Linked DNA regions of Homo sapiens: regions 1 and 3 are each linked to region 2. Evidence: promoter capture Hi-C in 16 types of primary human blood cells and fetal thymus (Javierre and others, 2016). All regions are on one chromosome and are shown on one strand. The core of a region is centred on a gene start or on the middle of the fragment in contact, and the rest is flanking DNA. Distances in the headings are between cores, read along the strand shown.

Region 1 (4,998 bases), core at 1,254-3,753, 710 kb before region 2:
ATGTGAGTGGTCAACTCTCCAGTGGCACCCCATGATTGATTTTTTTGGAGGGGGGAGGAGCCCTATTTTGGCGGGGGTGGGGGCGTGGGGGGAGGAGCCCTTGAATAGTGGACAAAGTGGAATTCAGAGTCCTAGCTTCTCTTTACTGGTGGTGTGGGCAAGTAATTTAACATCATTTAACGTCATTTTATTAATGTATAAATTGGGGATAATGTTTACCTATCTTACAGGATTGTGAAAGTGAAATGAGAACGTGCTGAATGCTTAATAGTTTCTTCTTTTCCCTTAGTATTTAGACTAATAACACTAAGTGTGTTCTGAGACAGAGCCAGTGCAAGGTAATCAAGATAGGTACATGTGAATCTCAAAGCACTAGGATTTGGTGTGTGATTTTCCCAGCAAGATGCAACGAAATTCTTGCATTCCTAGGATTGTGTTTTTAGCTTTAGAAAAATTGTTATTCCCTTTGGAGGGCCACAGCATTGGGCTCAGGGCAGAGCTTAATGCTTGCTAAATGAGAGAGACAGTTACACTGAAGACATTTTCATAGCAGCTGTGGTTTAGCATAACTTAGATGCCTTTTCTACCAAACCAAGCAACTCTCTATTTATCTCACAGTCTTCCACTGTCCCTTCCTTAGTTATGATCTAAAAGTTTTTGTGTAAATTGTTTAAAACTCAGGACACATTTTTTTTCATAAGGATGTTAGGGCTACACTTCTAGAACTTTTCATAAAATCCACTTTATAAAGTAGCTTATACATTATACTTATGAGAAAAATAGTCAATTAAAACGGCATTTTTGCTGCATCATTTGATTGCTATGAGGGCTAGCTTGAAAATATAACCATTATCATTTTCCTGTGAGAAAATGTTTGAGTTTCAGCTTTGATTTTTATGACTAACTTGGAGCACAGATTTGTGTCTTTGTTTGTCAACCTATAATCACATAGCAAGGAGGGAAACCCCTTACACTTACTTCCTACCAATTTGGAGAAATTTGTGGAGGAGGGCCTCGAGGGCCTCCTTTTGCCCTGATGTTAGTGAGGGAAGGAGTCCCCTGTTGCAGCAGTACAAAGGGTTTTTTCCACTGCAGCTGTTCATTTGTATTTGACATTGATAAGGCTTTGAGATCCTGTAGTAATACTTATTAAATTTTTTATAATATAGGAATTCTGTACAGGTTATAACATGACTGAATTGTTTGGTTTATTCATTTAGGATGAGGTGATGACTGAGCCCCCCTTTCCATTGTAATATTCTGTGAGTGATTTTAGGCAGTGGGGAGGACATTATCCTTTCTGAGGGTCAGTGATAGGCCTGTCAGTGTGCCTGGGACTCTCACTTAGGTAACCCCATGTCGATTCCCAGAGTAGTCTTAATGTTATCATTATTACACAGATAAAGAAACTGGATCCCAAAGGTTGTTAATTTTTTTTTTTTTGTCCTTCAACGATTGTATATTTTTCTTAATTTTCTTCTTGGCAGTGGGCAGTATTTTGTGAAATACTTGACTGTCTTGCTTTCTTTTTGTGGTACTGTAAGGTACTGTTCTTTACTGTACCCGTTCGCCCGTGTTTTGACTTCTTATGTCCCTTTCCCTCTTAGAGAATCTCTGCTTTCCTTTCTGTTGCCATGAATGCTTGGAAAGTCCTGCATCCTTCCATTCTTTATTCTACCTTTCCAAGAAGCTTCCTGCTCTAAAGTGTATTAGGTGAGAAAAATCCAGCTATTTTTGTGAAACACCTGTCTTTCCCTATACTGACTGTACCCAGAGTACCAAATATAGAATACAAAAACCAAGAAAATGCTTTTCTCACCCTCTAACAGGAGCAACAGCAGGAGCAGCAAGCACCAACAGTTTTTAAAACAAAAATGTTTGTAATTACACTCCTTGAATAGAAAAGTGGTAAAGGTTTGAGTACATAGGTATTAGTTTGACGTCTTAGAAGTGGAAGCTGCTTCAGAAGGTCATCTTGTTTATTCTGCTGCTGTCATTAGGCAATTTTTTTTTTTTGAGAGGTGGGGTCCTGCTCTTGTCATCCAGGCTGGAGTGCAGCGGCATGATCATAGCTTACTGCAGCCTTGAACTCCTGGGCTCAAGCGATCCCCCTGCAGCAGTCTCCCAAGTAGCTGGGACTACAGGTGTTTACTACCTTGCCTGCCTAATTTTTTTTTTTCTTTTTTTGAGACGGAGTCTTGCTCTGTCGTCCAGGCTGGAGTGCAGTGGCGTGATCTCGGCTCACTGCAAGCTCTGCCTCCCAGGTTCATGCCATTCTCCTGCCTCAGCCTCCCGAGTAGCTGGGACTACAGGTGCCCGCCACCATGCCCGGCTAATTTTGTTTTTGTATTTTTAGTAGAGATGAGGTTTCACCATGTTAGCCAGGAGGGCCTCAATCTCCTGACCTTGTGATCCGCTCGCCTCGGCCTCCCGAAGTGCTGGGATTACAGGCATGAACCACTGCGCCCAGCCTTGCCTGGCTAATTTTTAAATTTTAATTAAAAAAAATTTTTTTTAGTGACATGGTCTTGCTATGTTGCCCAGGCTTGTCTCAAACTGCTGGCTTCAAGCTATCCTCCCACCTCAGCCTCCCAAGTCACTGGGATTATACCTGTGAGCCACTGTGCCCAGCTAAGGCAAATTTTTGAGTAATTTAGGGCATTTATTGCTTATTTTTTATTAATCCCTCTTAGTAGAACATGAAAAATTTTTCTCATTACCAATCTGAAGACCTTACATTTTAGTTTTGTAATGTTATATTTATTTTTTCCTATTTAAAAAGTAATGCGTATTTTATGCATTATTTTTACCTAACTTCCTTTTGGTTAGGTTTCTCCAGATAGGGAAGAAAAGCACTTAAAAACAAACAAACAAACAAACAAACAAATCCTGAGTCCTTAAAAGAAACTTGTAAAGATCCTGTGGTGCAGGAAAAGAATCTGAAGGTGGGGAGGAAATAGATCCTTGAAACCAGATCTGGAAGAATTAGTGTTCACAAAATTTGAGTAAATCTGTTGGTAAATGGACTAGAACTCACCAAAATAGTCTGAAGACAGTGTGCTCTTTAGTTATTTATTCAGTGAGGGAAGCCCAACCTTTGCAACCTCTGGAAGGGCCCCAATACCCCTTTAGAGGTAAAGACATCATCCACTAGGGGTAGGAAAGATTTCATAGACCTATGACTTTATTTTGTTCTGAAAAGTGAGGATGTGCTTGATGTCTTGTTTAGTGTTTATGGGGAACTTCCTTATTCATGATTCTACTTGAGCTTTACACTATATCACCACCTCTCCCCTCTTTTTTAAACAGATGAGAAAGAAGCTTTAGCTGAGAGAAATTAAGTAACTGATCTAAGATACTTTAGATAGTAAGTGCTGAGTTGAGATTTGAACCTAGGACTTTGAGATTCTAAGCCACAGATTGTATTATTACACCGTGTCCTCTGAAAGGAATTGTCAGTAGTATATGACTGTGGCTTGAAAGATAAGACATACTCTGCAGTTTTCAATTTAAACTGGATAGTTATATTTAAGGAATTTTATTTCTGTATTGGACTATTTTTTTCTTTTTCTTTCTTTTTTTTTTTTTTTAGACAGAGTCTTGCCGTGATGCCCAGGTTGGAGTGCAATGGGGTGATCTCGGCTCACTGCAACCTTCGCTTCCTGGGTTCAAGCGATTCTTCTGTCTCAGCCTTCTGAGTAGCTGGGATTACAGGTGTGCGCCGCCACACCTGGCTAATTCTTTTCTATTTTTAGTAGAGACGGGGTTTCACCATATTGGCCAGGCCGGTCTCGAGCTCCTGACCTCAAGTGATCTGCCCGTCTTGACCTCTCAAAGTGCTGGGATTACAGGCATGAGCCACCGTGCCCTGCTTTTTTTTTTTTTTTTTTTTTTTTAAGACGAGGTCTTGCTATGTCACCCAGGCTTGTGTGCTATGGCATGATCGTAGCTCATGGTAACCTTGAACTCCTGGGCTCAAGCCATCCTCTCCAGTAGCTAGGACAACAGGTCCATGCCACCATGCCCAGCGAATTTTTAATTTTTTTTTTTTATAGAGACTGGGTCTTGCTATTTTACTCAGGCTGGTCTTGAGCTCCTGGCCTCAAGAGACCCTCCCTCCTGGGGAGTGGCGGGTTTACAGGTATGAGCCACTGTGCCCAGCCTGTTGCCTACTTTTTAATGGGATTATTTGGTTTTGCTGCTGAGTTCCTTGTATATTCTGTATATTAGTCCCTTATCAGATAAATAGTTTGCAAATATTTTCTCCCATTCTGTAGATTGTCTCTTTACTCTTTTTCCTTTGCTGTGCAGAAGCTTTTAGTTTAATGTAGCCCCATTTGTCTATTTTTGTTTTTGTGGCCTGTGCTTTTGAGGTCTTAGTCATAAAATCTTTGCCTAGACCAATGTCCTGAAGCATTTTCCCTATGTTTTCTTTTAGTAGGTTTATAGTTTTGGGTCTTATGTTTAAGTTTTTAATCATCTTAAGTCTATTCAGTAGACTTCAGATTTCTAGTTCGTTTTATCATGCAGTATTAGAATATGATTTAGAAACATTAAGCTAAATTGTAAACATGGCACCTATTTCTGTGTAGTATTAGATGCATTCTGAAGCAGGGCAGTCTCAAAAGAATGGTCATTGAGGTTGAAAGTACTTTAACCTTCATAGCATATTTTTACATTGGTGCTAAATTTTAATTTTTAATAGTTTGTATTTTGAATTTTTTAAAATTTTTGTGTCTTTATTCTTTAAGAATGATCTGAAATTATTCCCAACATGTAAGCATTATTGGGTATGCTATATTAGGATTTTAATTCCAATGTTATGCTTTTATTGTAATGAACAAGCCAAACCTGTTTATGATTATGCATTTAATTGTTTTGCATACCCCCTTTTGACAGCTTTTGCAGGGAGAAGCAAGCATTTTTTTCACATAAAGGCTCTTAAAACCTTAAATTTTTTTTATACATCACCAAATTATTTTAGCTAAGTACTTGCAG
Region 2 (4,633 bases), core at 1,008-3,507:
AGATAAATGAACTGATGCCTAAATATGCCCCCAAGGCAGCCAGTGCACGGACCGATTTGTAGTCTGCTCAATCTCTGTTGCACCTGAGGGGGAAAAAACAGTTCAACTGCTTACTCCCAAAACAGCCTTTTTGTAATTTATTTTTTAAGTGGGCTCCTGACAATACTGTATCAGATGTGAAGCCTGGAGCTTTCCTGATGATGCTGGCCCTACAGTACCCCCATGAGGGGATTCCCTTCCTTCTGTTGCTGGTGTACTCTAGGACTTCAAAGTGTGTCTGGGATTTTTTTATTAAAGAAAAAAAATTTCTAGCTGTCCTTGCAGAATTATAGTGAATACCAAAATGGGGTTTTGCCCCAGGAGGCTCCTACCAGTTTCTGCTTTCCAGTTGCAGAGTTTGGGGGGTTATTCATTCCCATTTATCTCTCAACCCACCAGTGCTGAAAATACCAGAGCAGGACATAGGGGCTGGGGCCAGCTGATGTGTGTGGGTGTGTACCACTAGAGGGCAGCAGGCACTCAGCAGAAAGGAGGTGGCGGGGGCGGGGGGTGCTGCGCTTGATACCCTGCCCCTTGATACAGTATCTGTCTTACCCGCCCAAGAGAGCTGGAGGCCACAGCTCTAGGAGGAGTGAGTCTGGGATACATTGGAGGGCCTTATATTGTGGCTCAGTACAAGCAAGACAGGGTGTCTGGAGTGTGGTTTTTCCACAAGGATATCTTCAATCAGTGCACGTCAGCACTGACATCTCTATAAAGATGCTGTTGGCCTGGCCACCTACTTGCTCTTTTGTCCATTCCAAGCCTCTGATGTCTGTTCCAGTTTTTGCAAGTCTGGCAGGAGTCAGCTTATACAAAGAGGGAGTGGGAAGCTGCCTTTTGCCTTTGTTTACCCTAGATTAGTCTAACAGTTGAGGTCCAGGGTTTTGCTGGAGTCTGCTTCTTAAGCCACTCTCTGTGGCACTGGTGCTTAGGAAACCCAGTTGTTAGTGTGAGCTGTGGCTCAATGAAGACACCTGTAGAAACCACCTGAAAGGACGGACTAAGAACCAGTGCTTTCCAAGTAATTGGTCTTGCCTCAGATCACTTCACTTGTGTCTCCTAAGCTCAGTTTGCCTGTAGGAGGCCTTGCTGCTGTGGAACCCATTGCTTTCTTCCAAGACCTTTCCCCCTGCACCTGCCTGAGCTACTCCAGGAGCTGCTTTCTCTTTGTGCGAAGAGGGCATGACTTGGTCTGCTCTTCCCCATCGCAAGGATTCTGTGCCAGAAATTGGGTCAGGTTCTACCATGGCTCCAGCAACTGTCCTTGGAGAATGAAAGCTTCCTCAATGGGCTTGAGCACCTGGGCACCCTTTCCCTCACCTCACCTGGGGAGAAGAGGTCGTCCTGAAGGTGATGAACAGGAGGGTACTGGCCAGCGAGGGGTCAGCGTGGCAAGGTGTGATAACTGCTGGCACTATCTGTGCATATGGCCTCTTCATCCTTGGCTCTTACGGCCCTACCTTTCCAGCCTGCTATCTGCCCACAGAAGAGGGTGGGACCCAAGAGTGGCGTTAAAGAGTCTATTCCAACTCCATCAACTGCAACTGCAGGCTTGTCTCTGCTTTCGGTTATTACCTGCGTGACAGCAATTGTCCTCACGGCCTTTTCGGGGACTGCTGCAGGTGAACCTGCACGTGGAGAATGCGCAGAATGTGGGCCTTGGGTCCTGGGCAGGGTCTAAGGATAGGCATGCATTAGTCCTTGGCGCCGTCAACGCCGGATCCCAGGCAGGAGATGCCAACGAGGGTGATGTGGGGTTTGCTCAAGCCTAGTCCTAGGACTGAGGGGATACTACATAAAGAGACCACTGACTGGGTCAATGCCCCAGATCCCAACGGCCATGGAAGCTGCCACTCCTGCTCCAATCAGCGCGGGCTCCAGTGCCTGCAAGAGGAGATAGCTGGACCCAGAGCGGCAAAGCACGGCTGGGAGCACAAAGCGTTAGGTCGTCTCGCCGGCCTCTCAGGGTTCACTACACTCCGCGTAGCCTCAAGCATCGGCCATGCGGGCCGCGCGGTGGCGCCAGAGCGCGCGGCCGGTCCCACTCACCCAGCACTCACAGGGTCACCTGGCACTGGGCGACGCAGCGCGATGAGGCAGGCCCGGCGCGGGTCTTGCTCCGCCCGCCGCAGAGTCACGTGGCAGGACGGCGCACCTTGATAACGCAATGCCCGGCCCCTCGGCGCCGCTCCCGCCCCGCCCCGCCGCCACCGCCGCGCCGAGTCCTTTTGTCCAAGATGGCGGCGCCGGGGGCGCTGCCTCCTCGGCCGCCGCCTCCGCCGCCGCCGCTGTGAGAAACCTACGGGCCGCCCGCCCGCCGCGCCAGCGCCATGAAGCGGCAGAGCGAGCGAGACTCTAGCCCGAGCGGGCGCGGCTCGTCATCGTCCGCCAAGCGTCCGCGGGAGCGCGAACGGGAGGCGGAGGCGGGCGGGCGGCGGGCGGCGCACAAGGCCTCTGGCGGCGCCAAGCACCCGGTTCCAGCGCGGGCCCGCGACAAACCCCGCGGCAGCGGAAGCGGCGGGGGCGGGCATCGCGACGGCCGCGGCACCGGGGACGCGAATCACCGCGCGAGTAGCGGGCGCTCCTCGGGCTCCGGCGCTGGCGGCGGGGGACGCGGCGGCAAGGCCTCGGGGGACCCGGGCGCCTCCGGCATGTCGCCCCGCGCGTCTCCTCTGCCGCCGCCTCCGCCACCGCCTGGGGCCGAGCCCGCGTGTCCCGGCTCATCCGCGGCCGCGCCTGAGTACAAGACGTTGCTCATCAGCAGCTTGAGCCCCGCGCTGCCCGCCGAGCACCTCGAGGACCGGCTCTTCCACCAGTTCAAGCGCTTCGGCGAGATCAGCCTCCGCCTGTCGCACACGCCTGAGCTGGGCCGTGTGGCCTACGTGAATTTCCGGCACCCACAGGACGCACGCGAGGCCCGCCAGCACGCCCTGGCCCGGCAGCTGCTGCTCTACGACCGCCCGCTCAAGGTAGAGCCCGTGTACCTGCGTGGCGGCGGCGGGAGCAGTCGGCGAAGTAGCAGCAGCAGCGCCGCCGCTTCCACGCCTCCCCCAGGGCCGCCCGCGCCCGCCGACCCGCTCGGCTACCTCCCGCTACACGGAGGCTACCAGTACAAGCAGCGCTCGCTGTCCCCCGTCGCTGCCCCGCCCCTGCGGGAGCCCCGTGCCCGTCACGCCGCCGCAGCCTTCGCCCTGGATGCCGCTGCTGCCGCCGCCGTGGGACTGTCCCGGGAGCGGGCCCTGGACTACTACGGGCTGTACGACGACCGTGGGCGCCCCTATGGCTACCCAGCTGTGTGTGAGGAGGACCTGATGCCCGAGGATGACCAGCGGGCCACGCGCAACCTCTTCATTGGTAACCTGGACCACAGCGTATCTGAGGTGGAGCTGCGAAGGGCCTTCGAGAAATATGGCATCATCGAGGAGGTGGTCATCAAGAGGCCTGCCCGTGGCCAGGGCGGTGCCTATGCCTTCCTCAAGTTCCAGAACCTGGACATGGCCCATAGGGCTAAGGTGGCCATGTCGGGCCGAGTGATTGGTCGCAACCCCATTAAGATAGGCTATGGCAAGGCCAACCCCACCACTCGTCTCTGGGTGGGTGGCCTGGGACCTAACACGTCACTGGCGGCTCTGGCCCGAGAGTTTGACCGCTTTGGGAGCATTCGGACCATTGATCACGTCAAAGGAGATAGCTTTGCCTATATTCAGTACGAGAGCTTGGACGCAGCCCAGGCCGCCTGTGCTAAAATGAGGGGTTTTCCCTTGGGTGGACCAGACCGCAGGCTCCGCGTGGATTTTGCCAAAGCAGAGGAGACTCGGTACCCCCAGCAGTACCAGCCCTCGCCACTCCCTGTGCATTATGAGCTGCTCACAGATGGATACACCCGGCACCGCAACCTGGACGCCGACCTGGTGCGGGACAGGACGCCCCCACACCTTCTGTACTCAGACCGAGACCGGACTTTTTTGGAAGGGGACTGGACCAGCCCCAGTAAAAGCTCTGACCGCCGAAACAGCCTTGAGGGCTACAGTCGCTCAGTGCGCAGCCGGAGTGGTGAGCGTTGGGGGGCAGATGGAGACCGTGGTTTGCCCAAGCCCTGGGAAGAGAGGCGGAAACGGAGAAGCCTTTCCAGTGACCGTGGGAGGACAACCCATTCACCATATGAGGAACGGAGTAGGACCAAGGGCAGTGGGCAGCAGTCAGAGCGGGGCTCCGACCGCACCCCTGAGCGCAGCCGCAAGGAGAACCACTCCAGTGAAGGGACCAAGGAGTCCAGCAGCAACTCCCTCAGCAACAGCAGACATGGGGCTGAGGAACGGGGCCACCACCACCACCACCACGAGGCTGCAGACTCTTCCCACGGGAAGAAGGCAAGAGACAGCGAGCGCAATCACCGGACCACAGAGGCCGAGCCCAAGCCTCTGGAAGAGCCAAAACACGAGACCAAAAAGCTGAAGAATCTTTCAGAGTACGCTCAGACACTACAGCTGGGTTGGAATGGGCTTCTGGTGTTGAAAAACAGCTGCTTCCCCACGTCTATGCATATCCTAGAGGGGGACCAGGGGGTGATCAGCAGTCTCCTCAAAGACCA
Region 3 (4,729 bases), core at 2,123-4,622, 760 kb before region 2:
GCCTGGCTCTCAGCCATTCCTCTCTGCGTGTGTGCTCCTCTGGGGATCAGGAGCCACAGTCTGCTCATCAGCAAAATGAGAGCCTGGGCCGGGCGCAGTGGCTCATGCCTGTAATCCCAGCACTTTGGGAGGCTGACGCGGGTGGATCACCTGAAGTCAGGAGTTCGAGATCAGCGTGGTGAAACCCCGTCTCTACTAAAAATAGAAAAATTAGCTGGGTGAGGTGGCACATGCTTGTAATACCAGCTACTTGAGAGGCTGAGGCAGGAGAATCACTTGAACCCGGGAAATGGAGGTTGCAGTGAGCTGAGATTGCGCCATTGCACTCTAGCCTGGGAGTCAAGAGTAAAACTCCATCTCAAAAAAAAAAAAAAAAAAAAAATGAGGGCCTGGGTGCTCTGCTTGGCAAAGGCCTCCCTTTTGGCTGTGAAGACATGTTAGGTGGGCAATGATCATCGGCAGTGCCAGGGAAGCAGGCAGGTCGTGGGGGCCTGCCTTGCCCACTGCTGGTGCTGATCTTGCAAGTAGACAGACAGCATAGAGACTGGTCAGAGGGTGCCCCAGGATGCCTCTCCCACACCAGTCAGCAAATGGTGTTGTCAGGGGAACATTTGGCTATGGTGATGCCACCAGCAAGGGCTATATTCTGCCAGGGTCAGGAGCTCTGAGGGTTATGACTCAGGTTTGGAGACCCCTTCCGCTGTACTTCATGGACTAATTAAGTGCTTGAGTCAGGCTGAGCCAGTACCAGGGTGTGTCCTTACCCTAGGCAGGCCCAGGAGAGGGGGAGTGAGTCACTGCCGCCTAGTCTCGTGGCAGGAACAGGCAGTGTCCCTCAGAGCTGCCAGGCCACCACCCTGGTCCCCTAGAGGGCAGGGCCTCCCCCTCTTCCTCATAGCTATGGCTCCATGGTGTGATCAGAGACTAGGAAAGCCTTCTGGGAGTAGGCTGGGTGTCGGTGCCTTGGGAGTCCTCTGGCTGAACGTGAGCAGGAGGGGAGAGGGGCCAGGGGCCAAGGGAGACTGGAAGCCTGGATGGCTAGTGCCCCTGCTACCCCTGGGAGGAGCCTGAGGAGAGCGATGGCTGCCTGTACTCACCCAGGCCTGTGTGGGGAGCTGCAGAGACATGAATGAAGCCAAAGGATGAGGGAGAGATGCTGAGCAGATATGAGATAGAAGGTCAGTGTTGGGGGTGGGGATGGAAGGTTCCCTAGGGCCTCTGTGCCATGCCTCTGGGGGTGAGCCAGTGTATCTCCCCACGCCCACTTCTGATTCCTTTGTCATCACTGTGACATCTCCTCCAGGCGAGAGAGACCAGCTGTCATTCTTCTGAAAGCTGGAGAGTTTTGGGTCCCCTCTCTCCAGAGCTGGCCAGAGGCCTGGCCTGCTGAGTGCTTCAGCAGGGGTCACCTAGGCGTGACCTCACTTGCCCTGGCCACCCCTGCTAGGGAGGGTGGTATGGCCCTTTGTTACCCTGTGTCAGCTATGTGGGCATCACTGCCACACAACTGGCCAGTTGGGGGCACATATTTCATTGCTGCTGTGGGGTCTCTTCATGAAGAGAGACCACTGATGGGACATTATTTCTGAGATTACAACAAAACACTTGTGTTTGCTAAAATGTTCCAGTCTTATGATGAAAATGTCCTATTTTTACACTGTCATAGAAGAAATAAAACCAGGGTAAAGTTTCACAGATTATGTAGCTGATTTTGATAGAAAAATCCCCTTTTCCTCTTTGAAGTTAAAGGAAGATACCAGAACCTGGATCTTCTGAGTATGTACTCAGGGGGCTCACAGGTGGTCTCTGTGGCCTCCCCCGGCCCTCTGTGGGAAGGCTGTGGGCAGAATCCTGGGATCCCACACCTGTCAGGGGCAGAGGGAGTTGTGATCCTGCCACTTTCTCACTGTAGAACCTCTGGGGGAGGGGAGGAGGCCATAGCTGTCTCAGGGCCTCTTTCCCCAGCTATAACACAGGAGCCATGTGGGAGGAGAGTGGGTGCCCAGTTCACAGATGCAAGCTGGGGCTTGGGAAGGTGAAAGGACTGGCCATGGTCACACATTTTGCAGGAGGGACATTGTTCAAAAGGATGCGCAGAGTTGTCGAGGGGTGTAAAGGTGTCTGCCACCTGGGAGAGTAGGGGGCTGCCACAAAGAAGTGAAGATGGGCCCCCTCCTATAGTTGACCAAGCTTGAGAGCTGGGTGAGTTCCCTGTTGTGGGTTTCTGTTCTTTCAGTCTTGGTTCCCATTCCCCAGGGTCGCTCCCCTAAGATCAGCCACCCTCTCTCCACCCTGGAGGGTCTTCCCCTTCCTTATTGAGCCTTTCACAGCAAAACAGGATTCGTGGACTCAAGGTTCTTGGTCCACCTTTGAAGAGCCCAGTCTGGCTGTGCCCCTCTGAGGATATGAGACCATTTCCTGTGACCTGCTGAATTGGAGAGGTTCTGCCTCCCCCAGGTCCCCAAGGCTGCACCTAGCTTTCCCTGAATTCTGGGAAACAAGGAGGGGAGGAGTGTAAGGCCATTTCAGGAAGACCCAGGGGAATCCTAAAGCCAGGGGTCCCCAAGCAAACCCAGGAACTGTTTTCACCCATACCATCATGGCCCCCAATACCTTCAGTGTGCACTGGACACCAAGTTCATCTGAGCTCTTTGTGTGTGCTCTCATTCCCTCCTTGTGGCTCCCTGGGAACAGGAGTATTAGCACTATCCCCACTTTCCAGATTGGGCCTGTGAGGCTCAGAGAGGCTGAATGGCCTGCCCAAGGCCACAGGGGAGTTGGGAATAGACCTGGACCCCTGTGGCTGCAGCTAGTCCTGCTGTGCATGGTCCCTGGTCTGGGGCACTGGGACCCTCTAGCACTCACGTTCCCACTGTTCTTCCCTCTTCCTTCCTGGGAGCCTCGCTCAGGTCCCTCTTTCTAGAAGCATTTCCCTCCACTCTTCCCATCCCCCAGACTTAGCATTTCAGCCTTTGTTTCCAGGTTGTCTGGGGCTGGTGGGAAGCAGACCAACTGAGGCCATCAAAATTTAGTAAATTGGAGGAATCTTGTCTTCCTAAGACTTGATGATTTCAAAATTTGTGTTGGCTATCCTGTCCCAGAGCTTCCTGGGAAGACACTAGGCTTGGAACCTCAGCTACTCCCTCCCCTCCCAAGAACTCTGGTGAGAAGTGGTCAGGTGGAGGTTCCCAGCCTGTCAAGCTGCCACCCTGCCCCCCATCAGGTGTCCTGGCCTTGGCCTAGAAGGGGAGTGGTTGTTTAGGGGTCCTCCTTTCTTGTGAGTTCCCTCAGAAGGGGCTGGCCTTCTCCATCTTGCCTGTTCTGCCAGGTTCTGGTTCTGGAAAGAAAGGAGAAGGGAAGGGAAGGAGCCAGGACCAGTTTCCCAGGTGTAGATGTCATCATCAAGCATCCCAGTTGGCAGTGACTCATCCATAGACCCCTAAATCCTTGAGGACAGAGTGCCCATGGCAGCATTCCCAGTCCCAGTCCAGGTCTAGCCCCCAGACAGGGCCAGTACATGTTTGCAGGAGTTGGGAGGGGATCTGTACATGGGCAGGCCTGTACAGTTGAATCCTGGTTCCCAAAGAACTCTGACTCAGTGGTGGCCATGTGCAAACCACGTGACCCAGAGAATCCACAAAGCCTCCCTGACCCTCAGTTTCCTCATCTGAAAATGGTGGCTAACAATGCAGTTGTTGAAGGGCAAGAGCTAATGGGTATGACATGCCTGGTACAGGGCGGGGCTCCGTGAACATCTGCCATTGTTGTAACAGCCACCGAGTAGCAGGGCCTGGTCCAGACCAGGGGCGTGGGCCAAGCTCTCGGAAGGAGTGGCAGGGCCTTCTCTGTTTGCTTTCCCCAGGCTGGTGTTGTGGGGATGAGTGCCTGCTCCAAGCCTTGAAGCTGCATGGAAAAGGGGTGAAGCAGCTATACATGGTCCCCAGTCTTGACTCTCACTGCCCAGCTGTGTGACTTTGGGCAAGTCACTTAACCTCCCAGAAGGACATTTCCCCACAGGTAGAAGGGCGCTGCTGATCCTTGTTGGGTTATGGTGACCACTGTGTGAGGTGGCCTCTGCACAGTACTGGCCCAGCACCAGGGACAGACTGTTGTCCTGTAGGGAGCGCTAATCCCACCTGACTCCATCATTCCCTCAGCACCTACCTGGGGCCTGGACGTTTGGGGTCAGTGGTATCATGTGAGCCGCCCTCCTTGGAACCGAGCCTCTGAGGAGGAGAGGTAAATGGACAGGGTGAGACAGAGGACAGGATGTGGTTGGAACTTAATGAAGCGAGGTCTCATCTGGCAGGAGGCCAACTCATCCATAGCTGCAAAATTGGTTCCATTACCTCCTTTAATGAGCTACGAAAGCTCGGAGAATGAGTTTGTGAGAGAATAATGGCACATGTCTGCAGCTCTGATTTGAAACTGTGGCTAAAAAGTTAGATATTACACTACCTTCCAGCTCTCCAAATAGCACCAGTGCCCTTGTCGGGAGGGAGAGGGAGGACATGGGGGGCAGGAGCGGGGTTCTGGCATTATAAGGAAGATGCTGAAGCTTTAAGAAGGAAAAGTCTGCTTCTGAACTCTGAATTCAGGGTCAATCCCATCCTGACGTCTTCCCTGCAGAGCAGAGGCTGAGGCTGTGACCCATTCTCTGAGTGGGCAAAGCAGCTCACAAGGGTCACACTGGCTGGCAGGGCCGTGTGTGTTAATAGCCCACACAGGT

What was found. The method cuts DNA at HindIII sites, captures the fragments that hold promoters and counts their contacts. A CHiCAGO score of 5 or more calls a contact.
Region 1: a contact is called between a fragment that was not itself captured here and the fragment with the promoter of RBM15B in region 2, in 3 of 17 cell types (naive CD8 T cells, activated CD4 T cells and M1 macrophages). The highest score is 8.6, in naive CD8 T cells.
Region 3: a fragment that was not itself captured here is called in contact with the fragment with the promoter of RBM15B in region 2 in 9 of 17 cell types (M1 macrophages, M0 macrophages, megakaryocytes and 6 more); the score reaches 9.8 in M1 macrophages.

The regions. Positions count from the first base shown.
Region 1 is chr3:50,676,641-50,681,638 of GRCh38, forward strand. The region is part of intron 1 of DOCK3 (dedicator of cytokinesis 3); the gene reads left to right. Among named protein-coding and RNA genes, the nearest start is that of MIR4787, 4.1 kb to the left of the region's middle. The HindIII fragment of the contact is 1,631 bases long and covers 1,689-3,319 here.
Region 2 is chr3:51,389,028-51,393,660 of GRCh38, forward strand. It overlaps RBM15B (RNA binding motif protein 15B), which reads left to right and starts at 2,258. Exons shown (of 1, transcript NM_013286.5): 1 at 2,258-4,633. The coding sequence starts at 2,373. MANF (mesencephalic astrocyte derived neurotrophic factor) reads left to right here. Exons shown (of 4, transcript NM_006010.6): 4 at 1-370. The coding sequence ends at 62. RefSeq lists enhancers at 1,732-1,781, 3,767-4,272, 4,273-4,633 and silencers at 2,102-2,581, 2,622-2,701, 2,812-2,871. The HindIII fragment of the contact is 3,377 bases long and covers 1,319-4,633 here.
Region 3 is chr3:50,626,825-50,631,553 of GRCh38, forward strand. All of the region lies in intron 2 of MAPKAPK3 (MAPK activated protein kinase 3), which reads left to right. Among named protein-coding and RNA genes, the nearest start is that of MAPKAPK3, 12 kb to the left of the region's middle. The HindIII fragment of the contact is 2,368 bases long and covers 2,189-4,556 here.